3 separate regions of the Homo sapiens genome follow, and regions 1 and 2 are each linked to region 3. The links are contacts of gene promoters, found by promoter capture Hi-C in human tissues and cell types (Jung and others, 2019). All regions are on one chromosome and are shown on one strand. The core of a region is centred on a gene start or on the middle of the fragment in contact, and the rest is flanking DNA. Distances in the headings are between cores, read along the strand shown.

Region 1 (3,637 bases), core at 988-3,487, 290 kb before region 3:
GTCACAAACCAAGATTCAAAATGAACCTCTAGGCCTTGCCCTAACATTTCCCCAACACCACAAAATTGTCCAACTTGCTCTATTGTAAGTAACCTTTAAACTATTAGCGAGTTTAGTAACATCCCGCGAGGCAGATTTTAAACTACGATACAGTTTCTATCTAGGCCACTGTGTTTAGTGTGTTTACAAACAGGCTTGGAGTTCTAGGTTTCTTCATCATCAGTGAACACAGAGCGTCCTAGAGCGCCAGCCTGTTCATGAGGGGTGTCCACAAAAGCACGCAAACTATAGCAGAGTGTGTGGGAGTGAATAGGTCTCCGATGTTCCTGTATTCAGGTATATATATATACACATTCACACAGACCAACAAGTCAAGCATTCTCCAAACTCATTTGAACAGAGACCCAAAATAATTTTAATGCAAATAACAAAATGAGTTAGTCTGTCTCCATCACATAGCCCCTCAATGAAAGAATTACAGTACTTTATAAAAATGTCATAAAATGCGCAAACTACAGTTCCTTCAAATACAGTTGATGCTATCTTTGGTCCTAATATGTGCTTCTTGGATGTCTACTAATTTTGTTGTTGTTATTGTTCTTGAATAACTGGTAATAAGCACCAAGTGAGGGCTGATTCTATCTACAGGTAAGAAGCTTGGATGTTTTCTCCCTGATTTTGTCATTTCTTTCCAACTTCCCAAATGCATGTCATACAGCAGGGAAGAGGCATCTCTCATGTCTCAAAAAAGCTTAATGGCACAGGTGGATGTGGGCACTGAATGTTGTACAGCAGTGGCAACCAGCCGGGAAAATCCATAGGATCATTTCAGACCGCATTCAACACAGATACTCATGTAGCCCCGACGTTTCTTGTGAAGGGAATTGATGTATTGCTTGAGGGGGTCGATCTCTGGTTCTAAGGTGTTTTGTTTGTTTCCATCGTGACTACCAGAAAATTATAGAAGGCCAGACGCAGTGGCTCATGCCTGTAATCCCAGCACTTTGGAAGGCTGAGGTGGGCGGATCACCTGAGGTTGGGAGTTCGAAACCAGCCTGACCAACATGGAGAAACCCCATCTCTACTAAAAATACAAAAATTAGCTGGGCATGGTGGGACATGCCTGTAATCCCAGCTACTCGGGAGGCTGAGGCAGGAGAATCACTTGAACCCAGGAGGCAGAGGTTGCGGTGAGCCAAGATGGTGCCACTGCACTCCAGCCTGGGCAACAAGAGCAAAACTCAGTCTCAAAAAAAAAAAAAAAAAAGAAAAAGAAAAAAGAAAATTATAGAAAAGCCACCAAGGTAGAAAGTTTCAAGGGAACTTAAGATTCAACTTCCTCCATGAGCTTGGGTAGCATCCTGTTAACCCTAGGGGTGTAAGCCACATTCTTGCCCACAATATGACTAGTGAGAGTATCTCATGGAGGCAGGAGGTGACATTTGTCCTGTCTCTGGCCCCAGGTCACCCTGTACTGCATTGGTGGCTTCTCCATAGGGAGGGGGTCCTATCTCATAGACTCCAAACTTCATGATGGCAGGGAGGATATCTGGATTTGCTCACCCCTGTATTTTCAGAGCCTCACACAGTGCCTGGAACATGGTAAACATTTAATACTATCTGTCAAAAACAAATGAATGAAAGAGCAGATGGAAAGAGCCAATCCTGCATTGAAGAGATATCCATGGTGGCCCTAAAACTACTCAAACCAGATGTCTCTTCAGCTCCACTGGAACTGAGCTGATGGCAAACCACCACTCCACTCAGCAGAAGGTCAAGTGCAAAAGTATTTAAATAGCACGAGGTCCCACACCCCATCCCAGGACAGCCCCCAGCATCCTGCTCCAACATAAGCAGAAAAAGACAATGAGGTGCAAAGAGCTTATCTCCTGGGATGGTTCCTGGGTGGTCTGCATTGCCACACAGCATCATGCTTTGATCCTGAAGGACAAGGCCCCAAAAGCCCTATTTCTCAGCACAGTCTTAAAATCACCTGGAAATCATTCACCCAGACCCTCTGAATCAGCCTGTCCCAAGCAGCACGGGAACCCCTAAAGCTTGAAAACTCCAGCTCTATGGGACCCTCTCACCGCATTTACTGTCGGGACCATGGGCCCCTCCACAGACATGTTTTCTGGGTGTTACACAGACAGGTACTGCCCAATAACTGTCATCTGCACGAACTGAATGGAGCTATATTTAGACTGATCTAAATACCTAAATGCCTCCAGGAGCATTTAATAATAGGCACGCGTAAAGCAGCCTCCCTACCATGCCACAGGCCTCGATTTTGAATCGTTTTATTTTTGAGACGGAGTCTCAGACTGTCGCCTGGGCTGGAGTGCAGTGGTGAATCTCGGCTCACTGCGACCTCCGCCTCCCAGTTTCAAGCGATTCTCCTGCCTCAGCCTCCTAAGTAGCTGGGATTACAGGCACCTGCCACCACACCGGGCTAATTTTGTTGTATTTTCGGTAGAGACGGGGTTTCACCATGTTGGCCAGGCTGGTCTTGAACTCCTGACCTTGTGATCCACCTGCCTCAGCCTCCCAAAGTGCTGGGATTACAGGTGTGAGCCACCGCACCCAGCTGATTTTGAATTCTTAGTGGTGTTCTTTGCAGCCTCCATCACAGTGTGTAATTAGTTTCTTTTCTTTTTTTTCTTTTTTTGAGATGGAGTCTCACTCTGTCACCCAGGCTGGAGTGCAGTGGCACGGTCTCGGCTCACTGCAACCTCCACCTCCCATTTCAAGTGATTCTCCTGCCTCAGCCACCTGATAGCTGGGATTACAGGCATGCACCACCACGCCCAGCTCATTTTTGTATTTTTAGTAGAGACAGGTTTTACCATTTTGGCCAGGCTGGTCTTGAACTCCTGACCTCAGGTGATCCACCCGCCTCAGCCTCCCAAAGTGCTGGGATTACAAGCATGAGCCACTGTACCCAGCCAGTTTTTCTAATTAAGTTTTAATCTGTCTCCTCCACTAGGCCATGAGCCCTAGGAGGAGATTGTCTCTAGAGGGTATCCCCTGTGCCTGGCACATGCATGCAAGTTATGATTTATGTTGATGAATGAATGAATGAATGAATGAATGAATGAATGAATGAATGGTGGATGGGTCCTCTGAGGCTCTAGAAATAGGGGTGAGAGGCCAGCCAGGTGTAGCATGAAGGGCTGGACAAGAAGGGAGAGGCCTTCTGGGATAAGATGGGAAGGAGGCTGTACCCCACACCCTGAAGGTGTCTATGAGTTCACATGGCTCAGGAATGGAGTTTTGGGGCCCTAGATGTAGACAGCTGTGGCGATGGAGGCCAAGGTTTTGGCCTGCTGTGGGGGTTGCATTCACCTCCCCATCTCCACATGACGATACCCCAGCATTTACGAGGCAGCTCTGCTGACCTGGCCCAGGCACCGTGGTCCCCAACTTCAACGCATCTGAAGCGTTGCCCAGGGAGCGCGTTAGAAATGCAGATTCCCTGGCCCCATCCCTTGAAGACTCTGATTCTGTAGGTCTGGGGTGAGGGGGGGGGCGCTGTAGGTTTTGCCTAAAGACGAGTCTAAATCTGGCACGCAGGTTAAGGATGACCATTCCTAAGGCAAGCAGGTGACACTGTCGGCAAATTGAGGTGAGACTTTTT
Region 2 (3,921 bases), core at 466-2,965, 270 kb before region 3:
AGTATTTTATAACCATCATCTTGGTCAACAAAACTCAAATGTCAAGGGAAGATGTCACATCAAATGATCTGGTTGGAAGATGCAGCCTCCTAATATCAACACTTGGTTCATTCTTCTTTTATTCCAATAATTTGTGACGAGATAGTTACTACATTTTTTTGGAAAAAAATTAATTTGTAGTTTCATGTTTTGAAGTACAGTGCGAATCAGACCTTCTGTTCACTGGGATGAAATTGTAGCCCCAGTTTTAAATGGATTAATGCACGCACACACACACACTCACACACACACACACACACATACACTGTCTCTCTTTTTCTGAACCACTTGAGAGTAAGTTGCCTAAACCATACAACTAAGTGCTTTAGTGTGTATTTCTGAAAAACCAAGGACATTTTCTTTCTTTTCTTTTCTTTTCTTTTTTTTTCTTTTTCTTTTTTTTTTTTTTTTTTTTGAGACAGAGTCTCACTCTGTTGCCCAGGCTGGAGTACAGTGGTGCGATCTCAGCCCACTGCATCCTCTGCCTCCCAGGTTCAAGTGATTCTCCTGCCTCAGCCTCCTGAGTAGCTGGGACTACAGGCACGTGTCACCACGCCCAGCTAATTTTTGTATTTTTAGTACAGACAGGGTTTCACTATGTTGGCCAGGCTGGTCTCGAACTCCTGACCTCAGGTGATCCGCCTGCCTCGGCCTCCCAAAGTGCTGGGATTACAGGCGTGAGCCACCGCACCTGGTTGCACATTTTCTTACATAACCACACTATGATGATCACAATGGAGAAATTTAACGTGATACAATATAACTATCATATCTACAGTCCATAGTCAAATTTCCCCAATTAACCCAATAATGTTCTACATGGCTTTCTTTTTCCTGCCCCAGGATCCAATCCAAGCTGATACACTGCATTTTCGTTTCAGGTCTCTTTAGTCCCCTTTAATCTGGAATACTTCCTCAGGTCTGTCTTTGTTTTTCATAACATTGATATTATTTAAGAATATTGACCACTTATTTTGTAGAATGTCCCTCAAATTTGTGTTCGATGTTTCCTGATGATTCGATCCAGATTATATTTTTTAAGCAGGAATGGCATATGAGCCATGTGTCCTCAATGGATCCCACCAGGAGGTGCAGTATGCCAGTTTGTCCCATCATTGGTGATGCTAACTTTGATCACTGGGTTGTGTTCTGCCAGATTCTTTCACTGTACATTTCCCCTTTGTCATTAAAAAATACTTTGTAAGGCTGGGCATGGTGCCTCATGCTTGTAATCCCGGCACTTTGGGAGGCCGAGGTGGGTGGATCACCTGAGGTCTGGAGTTCGAGACCAGCCTGGCCAACGTAGTGAAACCCTGTCTCTACTAAAAACACAAAAATTAGCCGGGCGTGGTGGTGGGCACCTGTAATTCCAGGTACTCAGGAGGCTGAGGCAGGAGAATCACTTGAACCCAGAAGGCAGAGGTTGCACTGAGCCAAGAACGCGCCACTGCACTCCAGCCTGGGTGACAGAGAGAGATTCCATCTCAAAAAAAAAAAAATTGTAGAAGTGATATTTGATAAAATACACATAACATTTACTATTAGTGTAAATGAGACACATTACATTCCCAATATTGTATATCCATCACCACTATCCAGTTCTAGAACGTTTCATCACCCCCAAAGTAAATTGTGTACTCACTAAGCAGTTATTCCCTATTCTCCCTTCCCCCAACCCCCAGCAACAAATAATATACTTTCTGTTTCTATGGATTTGTCTATTTTAGATATTTCATATCGTTGGAATCATACAATAGTGTGGCCTTTTGTGTCTGTCTTCTTTCATTTAGCACAGTGTTTCAAAGGTCCATCCATGATGTGGCATGTGTGGGAAGGTATTTTGAGATAATGTAAAGATCCTCTCTCAAGAAACTTTCACTCAGAGTTTAAGCATTCACTGATATTTCTGAAATAGGATTTTCGTTTGTTTGTTTTTGAGACAGAGTCTTGCTCCGTTGCCCAGGCTGGAGTGCAGTGGCACAATCTCGGCTCACTGCAACCTCTGCCTCCCGGGTTCAAGCGATTCTCCTGCCTCAGCCTCCCCAGTAGCTGGGACTACAGGCACGTGCTACTACGCCTGGCTAATTTTTGCATTTTTAGTAGAGACAGAGTTTCACTGTGTTTGCCAGGCTGGTCTCAAACCCTTGACCTCATGTGATCTGCCTGCCTTGGTCTCCCGAAGTGCTGGGATTACAGACGTGAGCCACCATCCCCAGAGCAAAATAGGATCATTTTAAAAGGCCTTTTTCTGGTACCAACTATTCCCCCTCCTCTAGTGGACATGCACTGACTGCACAAACCCTCCACCTTTTCACTGCCAGCTCTCCTCTCCAACCATGCTCATTCTCATCCCCATTATCCCCCCACGGAATGGATCAAGGCTCATGGGCTCATACAGGGTCCACTCCTTGAGACCCAGGACACACTAACAATGAGCCAGGAGCTGTATGGCTGCAGAACTCAGTCTGAGAGGTCCTGGCTGTGATTCTGTGCATCACCAATTAGAAGGACCCAATGAACCAGCTTGGAGATTCTTCTAATTCTTTCAAAAAAGACAAATTCCCCTTTGTTTAGGCCTGCGTCATTCTTAGCTGCCACCATATGCTGCTGCCTCCAAAATGATGCATTCCCTTTTTTTTTTTTTTTTAATAGATGCATTTCTGACCCTGGGGGGAAAAAGGGCTCATGTACCACGCTGAATGCCCTGTTACTTTAACATCAGCAGGAATGCCCAAATGCCAACTTCACCAGGGCCATTAACTCCAGGGTGATAATAGCTTCATATGTTGTCCAGCTGGGATGACACAAATGCATATGGACATGTAACTAAAACTTTCTAGAAAATAATAATTAAAAAGAAAAAAGGTTTTAACCCATTCTTTCCCAAAGGATGGAATTAAAATGTTATAAGGCATGATTTTGGACAGTGCATTGATAGGGCATTAAGCAACATTGAACCACATGGTGAAAAAGTTCCCATTCCAATCCTACTGAGTTCACCAAGGAAAAGACCCAGTTTGGTGCTAGTCAGTCTCCAATACTTGCTAATTTCTTTTTGACAAAAAGAGAAAACAGATCTTTGGTTAAAATGTATTTGTAGCTAGAATTTAATAGCATCATTCTGAGTTTATTGTATTTATTTTTAACGTTCTTTCTTTTTATAAGGAAGAAACACCACGTATAGCAGTGATATAAAGTATTTTAAAACCAAGTTATTGAAGCTTTAAAAGTGAACAATTTAGGGAAAATGTTATGTAAGTAAAAGGACAGGTGGTCCTCAGTGTCAGTAGAAATCCTCAGGGTGGTTGTCAAATGCTGATGTCTGGGAAGTACTGCTTTAAGCTCTGGGAATGGTTTCAGATGGACATTTCAGACATCAGGAACAAGCTTCTACAGAGAAAGGGATACGTTTTCAAGAGAAGTCAAGTAAGGTTTCTAGTACATGTAAAGGAAATGGCAGTTAGAGGTTGGTTTCAACCATTAGGCACTCCGAAAAACAACAGAGAAGTAAAGGTCTCCTATGACATCTGGAATTCAGATCTCCAGTAAAAACCAAAATGCGGTAGCTCAATTTTAGGACTTGTGAACCCAGGACATTGCTGGTGACTTCACCCGAGGCTTTGGAGGAAGTTATTCACAAGTAGCGGAAATCCCCCGAATGTTTAAGAGGGAATAAAAATAACCCTTTACTCCTGCATCTCTATACCAAAATAAGTCTCCCTTCTGCGCCACTATTCCCGACGCCAGTCAGCCACTGCCCTCTTAGAGGCAACCACGCTTCTCAGTTTCCTGTGCCTCCTTCCAGAGATATTGATTGCGAGAACACTTATTCTTCACTCCACGTTTCCGTGTGGCGGTAGCCGTACCAGAGTAACACTCTCT
Region 3 (3,719 bases), core at 307-2,806:
CGGCCATAGGAAACTAATACAGTCTATTACTTTCTGGGGTTTATTAGGTTTGAATCAGAGAGTTTGATTTTAAAAACAGAGACTTTACAAGGAATGGCATTTGGGTGCCAGGGCTCGTCCCATGCCTACTGGCTCTGATAGCTGGAAGCAGAACTGGGTGGGTGAGTGAGGCTGAGCTGTGGGTGTTTCTAGAAGTGGCTGCCGCCTGGGCCATCGGCAACCACGTTCACAGGTCATCCCTCATGCCTTGGTCATGCCACCTTCTGGGATGCTAGAGGTCTCAGGCAGTTAAGTGACTTGACCCAGGACAAGTCTGTCTAGCTAGACTCAGCAGGGATTAGAATAAAACTCCAAGCTCTCTTCCACTTGTCCAGCCCACTGCCAAGCTTGCTCCCCTCTGGCCTCAGTGGCTTTCTCTGATCTTACAACATAGCCCCAGGGCCTTTGCGCTTGCTGTTCCTTCAGCTTGGAACACTCTCCCTCTGGAGTCTCCCATGGCTGGCTGCTTCTCATCATTCTGGTCTCAGCTCAAATGCCACCTCCTCAGAGAGGCCCTCCATGGCTGCACTAAGGCAAGTGGCCTTCTCTAGTTACCTTCTCTTTCATCACAGGGCTGATTTTCTTCTCACATTCAATTATCTCATTAATCTCCTTGCCTGTTCAACATCAACTCCACCCCTTCTTCCTCCCTCTCCCAATGCAGGCTCCAGGAGGGCAGGGACTTTGTCTGATGTGTCCACAGATATGTCCCCAGCCCCAGACCTGGCACACAGTAGGTGCTCAATATATTTTGAATGAATGAGTGAGTAAATGAATGAATTTGCAGCTTTGGGGAACGCCTGACCCAAGCTCCATCCCAACACACCTGATCTTGGCTTTCCTAAAGGCCAGCTCCTCCTCGTTTCCAAAGTCCAGGGACACATCCTCGGTATCGTCCACCAGGGCCTGGGAGGAGAGCAAGGGCAGGTGGCAGGCCCAAGCACGGCGCACACCCCAACCCCACCCGCCCTGTCCTCCTGGGCTTGGACTCCACTTGCACCCCACCGGGTTCCCAAGTGGACCCTCCGAGCTGGCGGGGCCCCTCCGCTGCGGCTGCAGTGCAAAGCCCTCTCCACCCTCCCGACCACCGGGTGCAGCCCAGCCCCAGGCCCCGGCGCATCCCTCCTCCTCCTCCCGGCTTCTCCAGCGCTCCCGCAGGCTCCCCTCGTCCCGCCCCGCCTCCAGCCCCAGCATCCCCGAGGCCCTACCTGCTTCATCACCCTCCCAGGAGCCCACCTGGCGCCCAGGCCCGGGGCTCCAGCTCCGCCCGTCGCCGCTGAAGGGGTCGGACGCCGGGCGGGCGGATGTAGGCAGCAGACGGTGGACGCTGAGGGTCGGGGCCTGCGCCCTGTGGGGCAGCCTCAGCGCAGCTTCTCGGGTGGGGCGGGGCGCTCGGGGCCTAAGGCGCAGTCGCAGGCTGGGGAGGGGGCTCGGCTCGCCGGGGACGCGCCCAGGAGAGAAAGCGGCGGCAGGGAGGCAACGGCCTGGGGAACTGCGGACAGAGATAGTGGGAGGAATGGGAGTCGGGGGCGGGGGGCGGCTGCGTCAGCGAATGGTGTGGACGGCGCATAAACGTGGATGTAGCGAATGATAAGGCAGTGAATGAATGTCAGTGGTGGGCAGCCGCATTCAGGGTTGGGAGAAGGTCAGTGTTTCCCAACAGTCTCTGCGCGCAAGAAATTCCCAGGAACCTTGTGAAAAGCAGATTCTCAGGCCCGGCCCGGGGGATGTGGAAGGCCTGGAGTGGGGCCCTAGAATCTGCCTTCCCCGCGCCCCCACCCCCCACGACAAAATGCAGTTAGGATGGGCCCTGCTGTGTTCTTTTTTGGGGGGTGGGGTGGGGAAGGCAGATTCTAGGGCCCCACTCCAGGCCTTCCACATCCCCCGGGCCGGGCCTGAGAATCTGCTTTTCACAAGGTTCCTGGGAATTTCTTGCGTGCAGAGATTGTTGGGAACATTCTCTGCACCTAGGCTGGAGAGCACTGGTGCCATCGTAGCTCACTGTGGCCTCAAACTCCAGGGCTCAAGCAGTCCTCCCGCCTCAGCCTCCCGAAAAGCTGGGACCACAGGCTGCACCACCACACCTAGCTAAATTTTTATTTTTGTAGAGAGGAGGGTCTCACTATGTCGCCCCGGCTAGTCTTGAACACCGAGGTTCAAGCCATCCTCCTGCCTCAGCCTCCCAAAGTGTTGGGATTACAGGAGTGAGCCACCACACCCGGCCTCACCTGCCTTTTAAGGGGTGGCGCTGCTATAGCCACAGCTTCAGAACCACAGTGAGATCTGCGTGCATCGCCGTGCCAGGCACTTATTAAGCGCAAAGTTATTAGTAGTATTAATACTATTATTGACAGTAATAGTAGTGTTTCTTGAAGTGAAAGTCTTCCTGGGTACCTCCCAGGAAAGAAAACTTGTCACCTGAGGGTCTTTCCTGGCCCAGGACACAGTGACTCTCCTCTCCTGCGTGCCCTCTCCCTGTCCTGATCCCCCACCCACGGACAGAGGGCTGAGCATCGAGATGCCAAAGCCAGTGACCCTGCCCTTTGCCCTCCCACCATGGACAATAGGTACGTGTCCCCTGCCCCTGGTGACCCCAAAGAGGGCTCCTGGGCCACAAGCCCCTGACACATTTTCCCCACTGCTGGTCTCCATGGGCGGAGGTGGAGGCAGGAGCTGTCTCATCTCTGATCCTGGGCCTGGGTTCCAGGCTTTCTGTCCTCCGCCCCCACCCCAATTCCCTAAGCTGACCCCACAAGGGCCTGCCAGGTGTGTGTGGAGGGAAAGTGCTTTCTCCTATGCCATTTCTCTTTTTTTTTTTTTTTGAGATGGAGTTTCCCTCTTGTCACCCAGGCTGGAGTGCAATGGTGCGATCTCGGCTCACTGCAACCCCTGCCTCCCGGGTTCCTGCAATTCTCCTGCCTCAGCCTCCCAGGTAGCTGGTATTACAGGCGCCTGACATCAACCCGGGTAATTTTTGTATTTTGTATTTTTAGTAGAGAGGGGGTTTCACCATGTTGGCCAGGCTGGTCTCCAACTCCTGACCGCAGGTGATCCACCCACCTTGGCCTCCCAAAGAGCTGGGATTACAGGCATGAACCACTGCACCCAGCCTCTACTATGCGATCTTCAGGAACCAAGATTTATATATATACAATGTGTATATATGTGTGTGTGTATGTATATATATATATATATATATATATATATATATATATATATATATATGTATATGTATATATATTTGCCAAACTCTGCTGCGATTTGGATAGCTTCTAAAAGACACACTGCCCAGATTGTGTTATGGACCAATTAAATCAGGCTCTCTGGGGATGGGACCCTATACCAGTGCTTTTAAAGCTCCCAGGTGTTGGGCTGCAAGGTAAAGAACCAGTGATTTAAATGAGTGCTTCTGACCCCTCAATCTGCAAATGAATCTCCTGGGGTTGGCTTAGAAGCTGGATGCTGACTCAGCGTTCTGGGGGTCTGGGGGTCTGGGCAGGGGCTGAGATTCTTTCTTCCTTTCTTTCCTTCCTTTCTTTTCTTTTCTCCTTCCTTCCTTCCTTTCTTTCTTTCTTGAGATGGAGTCAGTGGCTAGATCTCAGCTCACTGCAACCTCCACCTCCTGGGTTCAAGTGATTCTTGTGCCTCAGCCCCTTAAGTAGCTGGGACTACAGGAACAT

Evidence for each region. Contacts are between HindIII fragments. The study calls those that stand out against the background at their distance.
Region 1: a contact is called between a fragment that was not itself captured here and the fragment with the promoter of TVP23A in region 3, in 2 of the 25 tissues and cell types used here (liver and thymus).
Region 2: a fragment that was not itself captured here is called in contact with the fragment with the promoter of TVP23A in region 3 in 1 of the 25 tissues and cell types used here (thymus).

The regions. Positions count from the first base shown.
Region 1 is chr16:10,528,683-10,532,319 of GRCh38, forward strand. It overlaps EMP2 (epithelial membrane protein 2), which reads right to left. Exons shown (of 5, transcript NM_001424.6): 5 at 1-3,637. Among named protein-coding and RNA genes, the nearest start is that of LINC01290, 2.3 kb to the left of the region's middle. The HindIII fragment of the contact is 3,069 bases long and covers 704-3,637 here.
Region 2 is chr16:10,549,450-10,553,370 of GRCh38, forward strand. The region is part of intron 1 of EMP2 (epithelial membrane protein 2); the gene reads right to left. Among named protein-coding and RNA genes, the nearest start is that of LINC01290, 23 kb to the left of the region's middle. RefSeq lists an enhancer at 3,671-3,920. The HindIII fragment of the contact is 3,255 bases long and covers 89-3,343 here.
Region 3 is chr16:10,817,238-10,820,956 of GRCh38, forward strand. It overlaps TVP23A (trans-golgi network vesicle protein 23 homolog A), which reads right to left and starts at 1,557. Exons shown (of 8, transcript NM_001079512.4): 1 at 1,248-1,557; 2 at 866-945. The coding sequence starts at 1,256. The HindIII fragment of the contact is 21,418 bases long and covers 1-3,719 here.